2 separate regions of the Homo sapiens genome follow, and region 2 is linked to region 1. The links are contacts of gene promoters, found by promoter capture Hi-C in human tissues and cell types (Jung and others, 2019). All regions are on one chromosome and are shown on one strand. Each heading gives the region's core, a stretch centred on a gene start or on the middle of the fragment in contact. The rest is flanking DNA. Distances are from core to core; before and after follow the strand shown.

Region 1 (7,796 bases), core at 2,016-4,515:
TACAGGCATGAGCCACCGTGCCCGGCCTGTTTGTTTATTTTGAGACAGTCTTACTGTGTCACCCAGGCTGGAGTGCAGTGACATGATCATGGCTCACTGCAGCCTTGACCTCCCTGGGCTCAGGTGATCCTCCCACCTCAGCCTCCCGAGCAGCTGGGATTACAGGCGTGTGCCACCACGCCCAGCTAATTTTTCTGTATTTTGGAGAGACAGAGTTTTGCCATGTTGCCCAGGCTGGTCTCAAACTCCTGGGCTCAACAGATCTGTCCACCTTGGCCTCCCAAAGTGCTGGGTTCACAGGCATGAACCAATGTGCCCGGCCTGAAACTGCAAGTATTTAGTCTGGTTCCATGTGAGGGCCTCTTCGGGTCCATTTCACATAAACCTTAGCCAAAATATATTAAGTACCTACCATGCACCTGACATTTCTCTAAGGACTTTATAACCAACACCTTACTAAGGCCTCACAGTAAATGGAGAGGTCACTTGTGCCGCCTCCATTTCAAAGATGAGGAAATTGAGACTCAGAATGGTCCAGCAACCTGACCATGATCACAATGCTAGGAATGAATGGGGCAGGAATTCAAGCTCAGGGAGGCAGATTTCAGATCTGTGCCCCACACCTATTGCAAGAATTAGTCAGTTCCCAGGCAGTGAAACTCTAAAGCCAGCCCCAGCTGCCCGAAACTCAACCACAGAGAGCTGGCTCTCAGCCCCTCACTGGCTCCCTTCTTTTCTCCCAGCTCCACCCTGCCACCCCCATTTCCCTCCCTGGCCCTGGGGCCCTGCTGCTTCCCCAAACCTGCTCTGCCACAATTCCTTCCAGGTTCCCTCATCTGTAAAATGGGGATAATAATAGTGTCCGTCTCAGAGCAGTGTTGTGAGGATCAGAGGAGGGGCTCAAGGTGCTTAGAGCCCAGTGTATAGTAGGTTCTCAATAAAAATCAGTGATCATCGCCACCACTGTCATTTAAGTAGTGTCTCTGAAGTAATGTGAAATTGACTGAGTGATAGCATTATCCACATTTGATGGTTGAGGAAATTGTGGTTAAGAGAAGTGAAGCAGCGGCTGTCCAGTGTCACTTAACTAGGAAGTAGAGAGCGGGACTTACTTAATCTGGGCCTCCTGACTTTCTGACTTCAGATCTCATTAACTTCTCCTATTCTTTGCAGCCAGGCAGATGAGTGAATCATAATCAGTATTTATTACCTGCCTTCTGCACTCCAAGCCAGGCCCTAGATGCTAAGGGGCATTCTAGAGAGATCTGACCTAGATTCTTGAAGGAGCATAGAACCTAACTGATAAACAAGGTATGAAAACGAAGCCTTGTTTTGTTGAGGTAGAACACACTAAGGGTCCCAAGAGGGTAAGAGCCATTCTGGCTGAGAGGAAGCAGGCAGGGGAGGCTTCTTGGAGGAGGTGAGATTTAAGCTGGCCCTCAAAGGACCAAAAAGGACCAATGAGATACGTAGACTAGAGTAAAAGGGTCTTATGCACTGGAGATAAGGTCAGAGATGTGACCGGGAGCGGTGACTCACACCTGTAATCCCAGCACTTTGGGAGGCCAAGTAGGGCGGATTGCCTGAGGTCAGGAGTCCGAGACCAGCGTGGCCAACATGGTGAAACCCTGCCTCTACTGAAAATACAAAAATTAGCCAGGCATGGTGGCTGGCGCCTGTAATCCCAGCTACTCGGGAGGCTGAGGCAGGAGACTCACTTGAACCTGAGGCAGGAGAATTGCACCGCTGCACTCCAACCTGGTGACAGAGTGAGACTCTGTCTAAAAAAAAAAAGTCAGAGATATAACAACAGCTGCCAATTCTTGAGGCTCCTTATGATCCAGGTTCTGTGATGAAAGCTTTATATGCATTATCTCATGAGATTTCCTCATGATCATATGAGGTAAGTGCTATTAGGAGGAGAAAATCAAGGATCAAGGATCAGAGAATTTACAAAATTTGCCTTGGTCACACAATGAATAATAAAGTGTCTGGGCCTGGGTTTGAATTCGGGGCTGTTGGCTACAAAGCCTGGGCTCTTAATCATCATGGGTTATTGCCACCTTGGCCTCAACCATCTAATGAGGAATTAAGCTGTGGACTGTCTCTGGAGGGCTTTGAATGCCAAGGCTCAGACTTGCATAAAAATCACACAGCACCAGGCAAGAAATCAGACCTGAAATCTAGCAGCAGCTTCTAGCAACTTTTTACCACTCACTACCCAAGTTTGCTTCTCTGAGCCTCTCTAAACCGGAGTGATGAGGAATGTATTATCAGCAATGAAGGTTTTTGAATGAGGCAGAGAGGCTCTTGTGACAAAAGGATTGTTTAAAAGAAACCTAGAGATGTTCAAACATTTACTGAGTATTGGGTCCTAATAATACAACTGTGAACAAGACAAAGCTCTGCAGTGGGACTCTGACCCTGCTGTGCCCCCAGGCAGCTTGGGAGAGTAGAAGAACCCCTTAACTGGAAAAACAAGGGCTCCAGAGCTGGGACCTGTCCCAGATTCTGTTGCCAGCTCTCAAATCAGGGAATCTCTCTGTATGACCTTGGGCAAGTTACCCAGCCTTTCAGACTGTCAGTCTTTATCATGGGGATCATCATTCCTCTTCCCAGGATTGTTGGAATAAATTAACTAAAACAACGCTTGTAAGGATCTAGCATGGTGCCTGGCATCCTGTAGGCGCTGAATAGATGTTAGTTTTCCCTACAAAGAAGTAGACTAGTTTGCCTCCGTCCCTCACCCCTCTGCCATTAAAGGGAACAGGTTCCTGGCCTTCATTTTAGCAGGAAAGGGGATATGAATGCACATGTGCTAGCTAAGCAACAATGCAAACTAACAAAAGGGCCTGTGGCCTGGGGAATACACTGCTGGGTCTGGGCTCAGGCTGGGACCCCGCGCCAAAATGTTTCCCTTCAATCCCAGGGAATCCGGGCCCATTTCTCGGGGCGCTGTGCACTGCTCTGGCCGCCTCTGCACTGTGAATCCCGGAACCACCCTCTGTCTCCGTCTCGCCGGCTGCTAACTAGCGCGGCCGGCGGCTGGCGGCACCAACAGCAGGTGTGGCTGCCCCTTTAAGCAGCGAAGCTAGTGTTGCAATCGCCGCCTCGAGGACGCGTTCTTTCCGGGGGGGGGGGGGGGGGTGGAGCCTGTACTGTCGCAGCAGCCAACCGGAGCGCGGCATTTTCCGCGGGAGATCCGAATTTCGCGGCACGACGTTTGGCGCTAAAAAAAAAAAAAAAAGAAGAAAAAAAAGAGGCAGAGAAAGACTCAAGGACTAGAGAGCGAGCCGCAAGGAAGTCGGTGCAGTCGAGACCCCCCTCCCCATCCCAGCGCATCGCGTCTCCGCCGAGCTTGAGGGCACGCCGGGGACCCCTCCCCAGAGCCGGCCGGACCCCAGGTGCCGAGGCCTTGGGGAGCGCGGGGCGTCCCGGGTCGCGGTGCCCTCGGGACGAGACAGCCCCTGGCAGTGCCACCACCGCAGCCGCCGGGCGATCTCCAAGCGGCGATCTCTAAGCGCTGCTCTCTGCTCGGCCGCGGGCCAGGAGGGGAGGGTCCGGCCTTGCCCCGCAGGCGTCCATTGGCGGCTTCCCCCGGCCTCCGCGCCATGCCGCGGGCCGTGTGAAAGGCGGCAGCACCGGAACCCGCAGGTGTCCGCGGGCGCGCCAAGCCCTTTTGGGTAGGGGGCGCCTTACTCGCTATGCTGCAAGGGCCCCGGGCCTTGGCTTCGGCCGCTGGGCAGACCCCGAAGGTGGTGCCCGCGATGAGCCCCACAGAGCTGTGGCCATCCGGCCTCAGCAGCCCCCAGCTCTGCCCAGCTACTGCTACCTACTACACACCGCTGTACCCGCAGACGGCGCCTCCCGCAGCGGCGCCAGGCACCTGCCTCGACGCCACTCCCCACGGACCCGAGGGCCAAGTTGTGCGATGCCTGCCGGCAGGCCGGCTGCCGGTAATGCTGGGGGCCCCCACCGCTTCCCCCTATGCTTTTCCAGGTGTGGGAAAGGAGGGAGGGGTGCCTGAGATCCAGTTTGAGTGGAGCAGGTAGAGTTTTGGGAAGAGGGAAGATGAGCTTTCAGTTTCCAGGACCCAGTGCCCCCAATATCTGAGTAGAAGACCCCTTCATTTTCAGACTTTGGATGAAATAATCTCATCCATTCTAGTGGAGTGGAATGAGCACTGGATTGCGAGTCTGGAGGGAGACCCAACTCACTACTCCCAGTGCACTGTGTGACCTTGGGGAAGTCCATGCAGCCAGCGTTGCCGCCATTCATTCATTACTTCATTGTTTGGCCAGAAACCAGTACTGGGTGCCTGCTATTGTCCAGGCAAAGAGTATGGCCTGGGGACACTGTGGGACTTTGGTAAGACAGAGGGATAGGTCTAGTGGGTCTCTCACATCCAATCTGCCATGGACAGACTCCAAATTGTCCAGCCAGCTCCTGAGATAGCCCCAAGTATCTGCCCTAGGTCCTCCCCCAGGCCCAGTCTTCCCTCCCAGACAGCCATGTAGCAGATACAAATGTGGGCAGCCCCCTTGGGTTCTGTTCAGATTGGCTGCTCTCTCCTCAAGCTCCCAGGCTCGTTGCCAGAGAGGGCCCAAAGTGTAGTGGCACCAGGCTGCCTGCTGACCTGGGCTCAGGGTGTGTTTTGTGGGAGTGGAATTCCTGGAGCCCGTGTGAATCAAAACAACTTTAGGGTGGGGGGTGGAGTGGGAAAAGCCTGGGGGAGTGGAGGTGGTGGTGGTTGAGGAGCCTGGTTTCTGGTGTGACTCTGCCACTAATTCTCTGTGTGTCCTTGGACAAGTCTTGGACCCAGTCTGGGCTTCAGTGTTCTCTCCTTCACAATGCGTGTGTGCACAGGGTGGCTGTGGGGCTAGCTCTTCTCAGCCACATTCAGCTCCAGGTCCTGGGTTTTGGAAGCAGGCTCCAGGGAGAGGAAGGGGGTGTTGTAGGTTTGCTTAGTTGTGAGTTTGGTGAATAAGTTCGGGTACAGGGATAAGACCACCCCCCACTGCCCCAGAGGCATCTGGTCAGACCTGTGCTAGTCAGCAAGCACGGATGCCCAGCCAGCTCTGGATGCAGGCAGAGCCACCACTCCCTGCCAGTGGACTCAGGCTTTGCCCATGTTCAAAACGTTAACCTTCCTGGAGACCCTTCCTGCACATGATTTCTAACTAGGAGGGCAGTGGGCAGGAATGGTATTATCCCCATTTTACAGGTTAAGCAACCGAGGATAACTGGGATTGGGTATCTTGTGTTCAGTGTTTTATAGCCTAAAACATCTTTGTAGTTCGTGAAATAGATGGCATTAATAGCTCCATGTTACAGGGGGAAACTGAGGCTCAGAGAGGGGATGTGACCTAAGGTCAGAGATGGGGATGGGGTAGAGTGATGGGACTCACAAGGCAGTCAGCTCTTCTGTCTTTTATTTTTTATTTTTTGTAGAGACAGGGGTCTCCCTATGTTCCCCAGGCTGGTCTCAAACTCCTGGGCTCAAGCAATCCTCTTGCCTCAGCCTCCCAAAGTGCTGGGATTACAGGCATGAGCTAGCTACTCTAATGCACCTGGTCAGGCAGCAGGCTCTTCTCTATGTAGCCTTGACTTTTTTTAATACTGCCTAACTTAGGAGCTGAGCTCCCCCCAGGGAAGGGAGCTTTGCGGCAGGCCCACTCTCCTCTGGCCAGCTGCTTTCAGACTGGAAGTTTCAGTAACAGCTGTGGTTTTACACTGCTTTGAACCCTCCCAGAGGAGCCCAAGTACATCTGTCTGTACCTCCCTCCCAGAAGGGCTCAGTGATCTTAGCAAGAAGGTCTCTCTTTTACTGAGTGCCTCTCGTGTGCCAGACACTGCTTGGCACTCTTCACGTTCATTATCTTGGTCAGGATGTCCAGAATGAGGCACCTTGCAGATAAGGAAACTGAGCAAAGAAAGGAAGTCACTTGCCTGGGTCACAAGTGAAGAAGCAGGGGAGTCTCCTTGCAGCAGACCACCCTAAAGCCCTGCCAGGCCCAGAGCTCCCGCTCCTGTCAATCCCCAGATGCCCGGGGCCCAGCCCCGTGGGCAGGCCTGCCCTCTGCTTACTCATTTTACAAGGGCGTGACCTGGAACAGCTCCAAACCCAACCCTGGGTGTGGCCGCTTGCTTTGTGGCCGGGCTGCAAAGTGCAGGGTGAGCAGGATTTGTTGTGGAGCTTCTGTTTAAAGGGACCTCAGGCACTGTCCAAGGATGGCAACCAAGTTCAATGGCAGAATGAAGGCCACAACCCAGATCTCCTGGCTCCCTGTCCAGAGCTCTTTCCAAGTCCTCTGAGGAAGGCTCAGGGAATGCCCCTTTATCGCATGCCTCCTCTGGCCAGGCGCATGGCATCATTCTCTTTCACGCCTGCAGGAAGCTCTGCCCAGGCTGGCTTGCAATAGCGCCATCTCTGCTCACTGCAAACTCCACCTCCCAGGTTCAAATGATTCTCCTGTCTCAGCCTCCCAAGTAGCTGGGATTACTTTTTGTATTTTTAGTAGAGATGGGGTTTCACCATGTTGGCCAGGCTAGCTTCGAACTCCTGACCTCAGGTGATCCACCCGCCTTGGCCTCCCAAAGTGCTGGGATTACAAGCGTGAGCCACCACGCCCGGTCCTCCTTTTCTTTCAATTTGTCTACATTTTCCAGATTTCCTCTTGTGAGGCATGAAAGAAAATAAACATTTTAACACACAACTCTACAAGGCAGGTCAGGTGAGGAGGTGTAGGCTCAGAGAGGCAAGACAGTGAATCCCAGGCTGTTCAGCTACGAAGTGGCAGAGCTGGGATCTGAAAGCAAGGTTCGACCCCTTACATTTGCTCCTACCCCCACCATCTGACTTAGGGCTTAGGAGAGACCAGGCTCCACTCTGCGTGACCTTGGGCAAGTCAATTCCTCTTCCCCAAGTCCCAGTTTCCTCACCGTGGTGCCCGTAAGGGGGTTGTGCCTGGTGATCTCTGACCCTCTGCACTTCTGCAGCTGCCTGAGGAAGGAGCTGTACTCTTCTCCATAGGGGTTGGCAGGGTGGGCTTGCGTCCTGACCAGGCCTTGAAGATCCAGCCAAAGGGGCTGCCTAAGAGCGTCCAGGATAGGGCTAAGCTGGCCTCTGGCTGTGGCCATAGCCTTTGCTCTCCTCCCCTCATCGCAGTCTCTTTTCAGCTCACCCTTGAACTTTCCCCTTTTCCCACTGGTGCTCCCCATACATCAGTGCTAGCAGCTCCCTGGTGGGGGCACTCCCTATGGGCAAAGCGCTTTGCTGCACTATCTCACTGAATCCTCAGCATAGGTGGAGACAATGATGCCCATTTTATAGGTGACTTGACGTCAACTGATTTCCCAGCTAAGAAGGGGAAGGCCTAGATGCAAAGCCAGGCCAGTCTGACTCCAAGACCTGTGCTCAGCCTCACCTTGATGCTGATCCTCCTGGGCTTGTCCTCTGCCACCTGTGTTCTGCAGGTTCAGCCCAAGCCATAGGCTGACTTTCCTCTGGGCACTGTCCAAAGGTGTCAGGGAGGTATCCTTAGGGGGACACTTGCCGCATTGGGACCCTGGGAGTGCAGAATAAGGGTGAAGGAGAGTGAGAAAAGAGAGAAGGCTGTGTGTGTGTGTGTGTGTGTGTGTGTGTGCAAGTACATGCAGTGATGGGGGCAGGTGGGCGTAGCCCAGGCCTTGGCCCAAATTCTAGCAAATCCTGGGGCAGCGTGTGTGGGATGCAGCTGAGGCAGCCTGGTACATGGCTTTGCAGTCAGACAGGCCTGGGTTCAAACCCTGGCTCC
Region 2 (7,796 bases), core at 4,223-6,722, 140 kb after region 1:
GTGTGTGTATGATGTGTGGAGTGTGTGTGTATGATGTCATGTGAAGTATGTGTGTGGTGTGTGATTAGCATATGTGTGGCATGTGTGGTTTGTGTATGTGTGGCATGTGGAAGTGTGTGTCTGTGTTATGTAGTGTGTGTATGTACATTCTTCTGAGGAGAGGGTTCACTGCTTTCCTCAAACACCCAAAACAAACAGCAAAGAGCCTTGGCTTTAGGATGAAATGGGGAACTTGGCACAGGTAGACCAGGGTTATCTTTCTGCCTAATTTAAAATATCTGATCTTTTTGGGTAAATAGCAACATATGCCTGGAGTTATAAATTGCAACTTGGCTTTACAGTGTGTCTTTCGTCAGTTCAGACTGCTATAACGAACATCGCCTGGGTAGTTTATAAACAACAGGCATTTATTCCTCACATTTCTTTTTTTTTGTTTGCTTGTTTTTTTGAGATGGAGTCCACTCTTTTGCCCAGGCTGGAGTGTAGTGGCACAATCTGGGCTCACTGCAGCCTCCACCTCCCAGGTTCAAGCGATTCTACTGCCTCAGCCTCCCGAGTAGCTGGGATTACAGGGGTGTGCCACCATGCCCGGCTAATTTTTGTATTTTTAGTAGAGATGGGATTTCACCATGTTGGCCAGGCTGGTCTCAAACTCCTGACCTCAGATAATCCACCTGCCTCAGCCTCCCAAAGTGCTGGGATTACAGGCGTGAACCATGACACCTGGCCTAGTTCTCACATTTCTAGAGATTGGACAGTCCAACATCAGGGCAGCAGCAGATTCAGTGTCTAGTGAGGGCCTGCTTCCTCATAGACAGCCATCTTCTCACTGTAACCTCACATGGTGGAGGGGTCTTTCTCAGGCCCCTATTAGAGGAGCACTAATCCCCTGCACCAGAGCTCTGCCCTTGAGAGCTAATCACCTCCCAAAGACCCCCTAATAACCATTGCCTTGGGGTTAGGATTTCAACAGGCCACGTGAGGTGGCTCATGCCTGTAATCCCAGCACTTTGGGAGGCCGAGGTGGGCAGAACTCCTGAGCTCAGGAGTTCAAGATGGCAAAACCCTGTCTCTACTAAAAATACAAAAATTAGCCGGGCGTGGTGGCACACACCTGTAGTCCCAGCTACTCGGGAGGCTGAGGCAGGAGAATCGCTTGAACCCAGGAGGCAGAGGTTGCAGTGAGCTGAGATCCTCCATCTCAAAAAAAAAAAAAAAAAAGAAAGAAAGAAAGAAAAAAAGAAAAAAAAACAGAAAAATCTTAGCTTGGGCTTGGGCTGCCTGCTGTGAGGGGAAGCGCCCATCAGGAACCCATGTGGACGGTGTCTCTCTCAGAACTCCCTTCCCTGACTCCCTTTTTATGCCTCTTTCCTTGTTTACCTGACTCCCTCATTCTTTCTTCTTCTCTTTTCTTCCCTACTCAGACATAGCAAAGAATGGAGTAGGCTCTGAGATACCCATGAGCGCTGCTGAGTGGACATAGCATCCTGTCAGTCCCCTGAGAACCGGCATTCACAGTCCACCCAGCACTGACAACAGTGTCTGGTACATCACAGGGCTCAACAAATAGGGATAGAATTGTGGTCTCTGACTCTCATTTCCTTCATTTTCCACCTTATTTTCTACAGTGTTGTATTTATTCTCCGTGTCTCTGATGCTGCCTCATTCTAATGAGGCAGGGCAGAGAAGTCAATGAATTGGCGTGTGGCTGGATAGATTTTTCTGTTCTCTATTTCTTAGCTGGCACACAAGACCTTCCTTCCACAATCTGACCTCCAGCCACATCTCCCATGCTTGACTTGAACCTACCCCAAATACTTTTCCCCAAACATGCTATTCTTGTCCTCTGATCTTTTGTGCCTGCTGTTTTTTGTTTTTTGTTTTTTCTTTTGAGATGGAGTCTGGCTGTCACCCAGGCTGGAGTGCAATGGCATAATCTCAGCTCACTGCAACCTCCACCTCCCAGGTTCAAGAGATTCTCCTGCCTCAGCCTCCCAAGTAGTTAGGACTGCAGGCATGCACCTGTAACCATGTAACCATGCCTGGCTAATTTTTCTATTTTTAGTAGAGACGAAGTTTCGCCATGTTGGCCAGGTTGGTCTCAAACTCCTGACCTCAGGTGATCTGCCCGCCTCGGCTTCCTGAAGTGCTGGGATTACATGTGTGAGCCACTGCGCCCGGCCCTGCTGTTTTATTTGTCTGGAATGTGCCACCACCCACCCCAGGAACTCCTATCTTTCAAGACTGGTTAAAGTACTAGCTTCTTCATGACCCACCAGACCCCAAACAGTTAACCACCATACCCTGTTGCTTTCCCCTGCACCTTATATGCCTTCACTTTAGTACTTCCTTCCCTCTCTTGCAATCTCGTGTAAATGCTTGGCTACCCTATCAGATTAGCACTACTTGGGAGGAGGAACCAGATCTTCCTTTCTGAATCCGTTGGACTCAGAGGCAGTAGCATGCTTGAGCTAGCTCCTACCAGCTCAAGGGAGCTGGTGATGTGTAGCTCTTCCCAACTCTGCGTTCAGTTATATCACATTAGCAGCTTGAAATTGGCCATGGAATTTTGTCCCATTGACCATAGCATTTTGTCCCATGGAAGCTGACAAACACTACAAATCAAGGCATCCCCACAACCAAAGCTGGTTTACCTGCAAACTGATACAGTTAAAGGCATTCAGTAAATTGGCATCCAATAGATTTTGTTTTTGTTTTTTGAGACGGAGTCTCACTCTGTCACCCAGGCTGGAGTGCAGTGACGTGATCTCGGCTCACTGCACCCTCCACCTCCCAGGTTCAAGCGATTCTCCTGCCTCAGCCTCCTAAATAGCTGAGATTACAGGCATGCACCACCAATGCCTGGCTTTTTTTTTTTTTTTGATGGAATCTCGCTGTTGTTGCCCAGGCGGGAGTGCAATGGTGCAGTCTCAGCTCACTGCAACTTAAACCTCCCAGGTTCAAGCAATTGTCCTGCTTCAGCCTTCCAAGTAGCTGGGATTACAGGTGCCCGCCACCACACCCAGCTAATTTTTTGTATTTTTAGTACAGATGGGGTTTCACCATGTTGACCTGGCTGGTCTCCAACTCCTGACCTCAGGTGATCCACCTGTCCCAGCCTCCCAAAGTGCTGAGATTACAGGTGTAAGCCACTGCACCTGGCCACATCCAATAAATTTTGAATGGGCAAATGCTTTATGCTCTGGAAAATCCCCTCAAATTAAAGTCAGCTACTTTTTACTCATATGGGTAAATGGCTTTCATTGACTTGTTTTTCTATATTCTCCTGCCATTGGTTAGGGCCTAGCCTTTGAATTTAACACACTAGGACTTAAACATTAATACGTACCAGAATAACTTGAGGACACTAGTGAAAATGCATATTCTGGCCAGGCGCAGTGGCTCATGCCTGTAATCCCGGCACTTCGGGAGTCCAAAGTAGGCAGATCACTTGAGCTCAGGAGACCAGCCTAGGCAACATGGGAAAACCCCATCTCTACAAAAATATACAAAAAATAATTAACCAGGTTTGGTGGTGCATGCTGGGTGTAGTCCCAGCTACTTGGGAGGCTGAGGTGGGAGAATCGTTTGAGCCTGGGGAGGTTGAGGCTGCCATGAGTCACGATCGCACCACTGCACTCCAGCCTAGGTGACAGCAAGATCCTGTCCCAAAAATAACCAAATAAAGAACTTTAAAAAATGCATATTCCTGGGCCTGCCCTTAGCAATTCAGATTCATAGGAATCTGCATTTTATCAAGAAGCCTAAGTGGTTATAATGAAAGGTGAGCACACTAAAATGCTTTGACCTTTATGCCAGCATTCTTCTCCATGGTTTAAGGACTCAGGACAGACAGCAACAATTAAAATGTTTAAGCCAGGCATAGTGGTTCATACCTGTAATCCCAGCACTTTGGAAGGATGAGGTGGGTGGATCACAAGGTCAGGAGATCGAGACCATCCTGGCCAATATGGTGAAACCCCGTCTCTACTAAAAATACAAAAATTAGCTGGGTGTGGTGGCATGAGCCTGTAGTCCCAGCTACTCGGGAGGCTGAGGCAGGAGAATCGCTTGAACCCAGGAGGTGGAGGTTGCAGTGAGCCGAGATCGCACCACTGCACTTCAGCCTGGTGACAGAGCGAGACTCCATCTCAAAAAAAAAAAAAAAAAGTTTAAAATCCTCATTTTGAGATTCGCGTCAGCCACCCTCCTTCCCCTTCCACCAACCCTTAACTGGAGCTCCCTCTCTGCTGTCCTCTGGCAGAGGCTTAAGGGGAGACAAGTGGCCAGGGAGATGGACAGAGAAAGCAAAGGTGTGGGTGATGCAGACCCGGAGTGTCTACTGTGAGCTGGTGGGAGACTGGAGACTCTTCTGTAGAAACTCTCAGAAAAAGATGATCTTGGATGCATGCTCATCAGATGAACAGTTAGTTGTGTGAGCCCAGGAGCTTCAGGATGGGGGTAGCAGCAGCAAGTCATGGGTAGTTGCGCCAAGGTTCCCACTAAGCAGAACAGCAGGGCAGTGATCACAGCGTAAAAGAGCACTGGGTCAAGTCTAGAGAGGAAGGCTAAGGGGAACATCATAGACCAGGTGGCAGTGATCAAGTCAGCTCAAGCAGGAAGGTTCAGGCCAAGGCCAAGGTCCTGGCAGGCAGGATGAGCCCCAGATCTGAAGAAATGTACACAGGAGTGCTCGTCCTCGGGCAGAGGCTGTTTGCCTGCTGCTCACCTGAATGTGCATTATGACCTTCCAGCCGTGGGCGGCAGGAGGACTCTGCGGGGACAGCTTTCTCCCAGCTGGGGCAGGACCCGGAATCCAGGCCTCCTTCCAGCTCCTTGCAGTCAATAAAGCATGTTACCTCCTTTTCTGTTCAGGCTTTCTAGAAACCGGGTGTAGGGCAGGGCCCCTGAAACTCCTCAGCCCTGAAGGGTAGACTCTTTTTTCTCCAGGAAATGGCCAGTGATGAACTGAGGGAGTTGAGGAATGCCATGACCCAGGAGGCCATCCGTGAGCACCAGATGGCCAAGACTGGCGGCACCACCACTGACCTCTTCCAGTGCAGCAAATGCAAGAAGAAGAACTGCACCTATAACCAGGTAAGGACAGTGAGGGGACGGGCCGGAGGTGCAGGAGGCCGCAGGGGCATAGAGGTGGAAAATCAGAGAGAAGCTTAGGGAAGAGCCAGAGGGGAGAAAGCGTTAAAACTCTCTAGGCTTTGCCGGGTGCGGTGGCTCATGTCTGTAATCACAGCACTTTGGGAGGCCAAGGCGAGTGGATCACCTGAGGCCAGGAGTTTGAGACCAGCCTGGCCAACACAGTGAAACCCCATCTCTACTAAAAATACAAAAATGCCGGGCGCGGTGGCTCACGCCTATAATCCCAGCACTTTGGGAGGCCAAGACGGGCGGATCACGAGGTCAGGAGATTGAGACCATCCTGGCAAACACGGTGAAACCCCGTCTCTGCTAAAAATTCAAAAAATTAGCAGGGTGTGGTGGCGGGCACCTGTAGTCCCAGCTACTCAGGAGGCTGAGGCAGGAGAATGGCGTGAACCCGGGAGGTGGAGCTTGCAGTGAACCGAGATCATGCCACTGCACTCCAGCTTGGGCGACAGAGTGAGACTCCATCTGAAAGAAAAAAAAAATTAGCCAGGCATGGTGGCACGTGCCTGTAATCCCAGCTACCCTGGAGGCTGAGGCAGGAGAATCACTGGAACCTGGGAGGTGGAGGCTGCAGTGAGCCGAGATTGCACCACTGTACTCCAGCCTGGGCGACAGAGGGAGACTCTGTCTCAAACCAAACAAACAACAAAAAGAAAACCTCTCTAGGCTGGGCCAGCTCAGTGGCTCACGCCTGTAATCCCAGCACTTTGGGAGGCCGAGGCAGGCAGATTGCTTGAGCCTAGGAGTTTGAGAGCAGCCTGGGCAACGTGGTGAAACGTCATCTCTGCTAAAAATACAAAAATTAGCCAGGCTTGGTAGTGTGTGCCTGTAGTCCCAGCTACTGGATGCGGGGGAAATGGGTGGCGATGAGGCAGGAGAATCACTGGAGCCCAGGAGGTTGAGGCTACAGTGAATTGAGGCTGCAATGAGCTATGATTGCACCACTGCACTCCAGCCTGGGTGACAGAATGAGACCCTGACTCAACAAAACAAAGAAAACCTTAAAAACTCTCCAGGCTGCAGAGAGAAGGGCAAGCCTTGGTACACTAATGTGGTGCACCTGTGGCTTCTAGACAATGTTCCTCTGAGTTTAGAATCATCCCTGCTATGTGTCTACGAGGCTTGGTCAGTGTGTTCTGGTCTGCCCTGACGTGACAATAAGAAGAATCAGACTCATGGCGGCTGAAGAGTCATAGACAGTTGGAAGGGAACTTGGCAATGTGAAACCCAGCTCCCTCATTACACACCCAGGGAAACTGAGGCCCACACAGGCCACAGATGGGCTTTTTAGCCTTGCCCAAGAAAGGAGGCCAATGTCAGAGGTAGTAATAAACAAGATCCACACCATTCTGCCTGCAATCCAGCTAACTTGGTCAATAAAGCCTAAGGGCTTTAGCTCTGAGTCCTAAAGTTGAAGACCATTGCCCTGGCATGGGGAACTTGGGAAGGCTGTGGAGGCCCCTTCTCTTAAAACCAGAGAATGGCCTCCTCTTTCTGGGTTGCACATGGTATGCCCTTAGAGCACAAATATCCTTGGATTCTAACTGGTGTCTAGTCATTCTAGAACTCTATTCAGAGTTCTCCGTCTGTTCGGCACACACCATTTATCAAGAGCACCTTGCCTGCGGCATTCTGTGGCCAGGGCAGAAATGCAGTCAGCCTTGCCATTCCGGAGGAGTCCCTTGGAGAATTCCAGTTCTGGAATCCGGAGATGTTTGTGCAAGCTTCTGCTCTCTCCCAAGCACCTTTCCGTGTGGAGTGATGCGCTTCCTGTGCCTCACTTCTTTCTAGAAGTAAACTGCCCACTAGCAAAGTTTTCTCTCTGCTCGTCACTGCTTTCCAGTGACCAGGCTGCGCTAAGCTGTGTCCGCCTGGCAGACTGCTGGGCTGCTGGGGCTCACCCAAGGAGGGTGGCGGGCATAACTCGTCCCACACCACAGATTCCCAGCTGACATCATTCGTAGCTGATTGTCAGCAAAGTAATGACTTGCTACATGTCGTGGCCAGCCAAGGACAGCCTTAGAAAACCAGAACAGGAGCTGTTAAACCTGGAAATGCCAGGGCTTTACTGTGGGATACCCGGTTCCTGCACCTGAATGATGAGGCTAAGAGGATGAGAAAATGTAACATTAAATAGTCCCAATGATATTTAGGACTTTCCCTCTCTGGGCCTCAGGTCTTCCACCAGTAAAATAAGGAAGATGAACTAGACCGCTAAGCCTGCTTGCAGCTCACTCCTGTGAACTTGTCCAGTAGGATGTGTTCAGGGGTGAGTCAGGGAATACTTCCTGTAGGAGATAAGTCTTGAGGCAAGAGAAGAGAGGTCTGTTACAAAAGATCAACAAGAGTGACCAACAAGAGTGAAAGTCCAAATTAGCCGGGCGTGGTGGCGGGCGCCTGTAATCCCAGCTATTCAGGAGGCTGAGGCAGGAGAATTGCTTGAACCCAGGAGGTGGAGGTTGCAGTGAGCCGAGATGGCACCACTGCACTCCAGTCTGGGCAACAGAGCGAGACTCCACTGTCAAAAAAAAAAAAAAAAAAAAAGCGGAAGTGCAAAAGGCCAGGTTAAGCCAGTAAGATACTGGGAGTGAGCTGATGGACTGCCTGCCAGAGGAGAGGAAAGCATAATACTA

The links. The method cuts DNA at HindIII sites, captures the fragments that hold promoters and counts their contacts. A contact is called where the count stands out against the background at its distance.
Region 2: a fragment that was not itself captured here is called in contact with the fragment with the promoter of E2F2 in region 1 in 1 of the 25 tissues and cell types used here (bladder).

Annotation. Positions count from the first base shown.
Region 1 is chr1:23,526,702-23,534,497 of GRCh38, reverse strand. It overlaps E2F2 (E2F transcription factor 2), which reads left to right and starts at 3,265. Exons shown (of 7, transcript NM_004091.4): 1 at 3,265-3,956. The coding sequence starts at 3,705. It overlaps LOC101928163 (a long non-coding RNA gene), which reads right to left. Exons shown (of 3, transcript NR_110799.1): 2 at 7,428-7,568; 3 at 6,079-7,093. RefSeq lists silencers at 3,034-3,173, 3,711-3,859, 6,015-6,211 and an enhancer at 5,867-5,996. The HindIII fragment of the contact is 9,154 bases long and covers 594-7,796 here.
Region 2 is chr1:23,384,574-23,392,369 of GRCh38, reverse strand. TCEA3 (transcription elongation factor A3) reads left to right here. Exons shown (of 11, transcript NM_003196.3): 9 at 4,951-5,097. Among named protein-coding and RNA genes, the nearest start is that of ZNF436, 19 kb to the right of the region's middle. The HindIII fragment of the contact is 6,654 bases long and covers 2,146-7,796 here.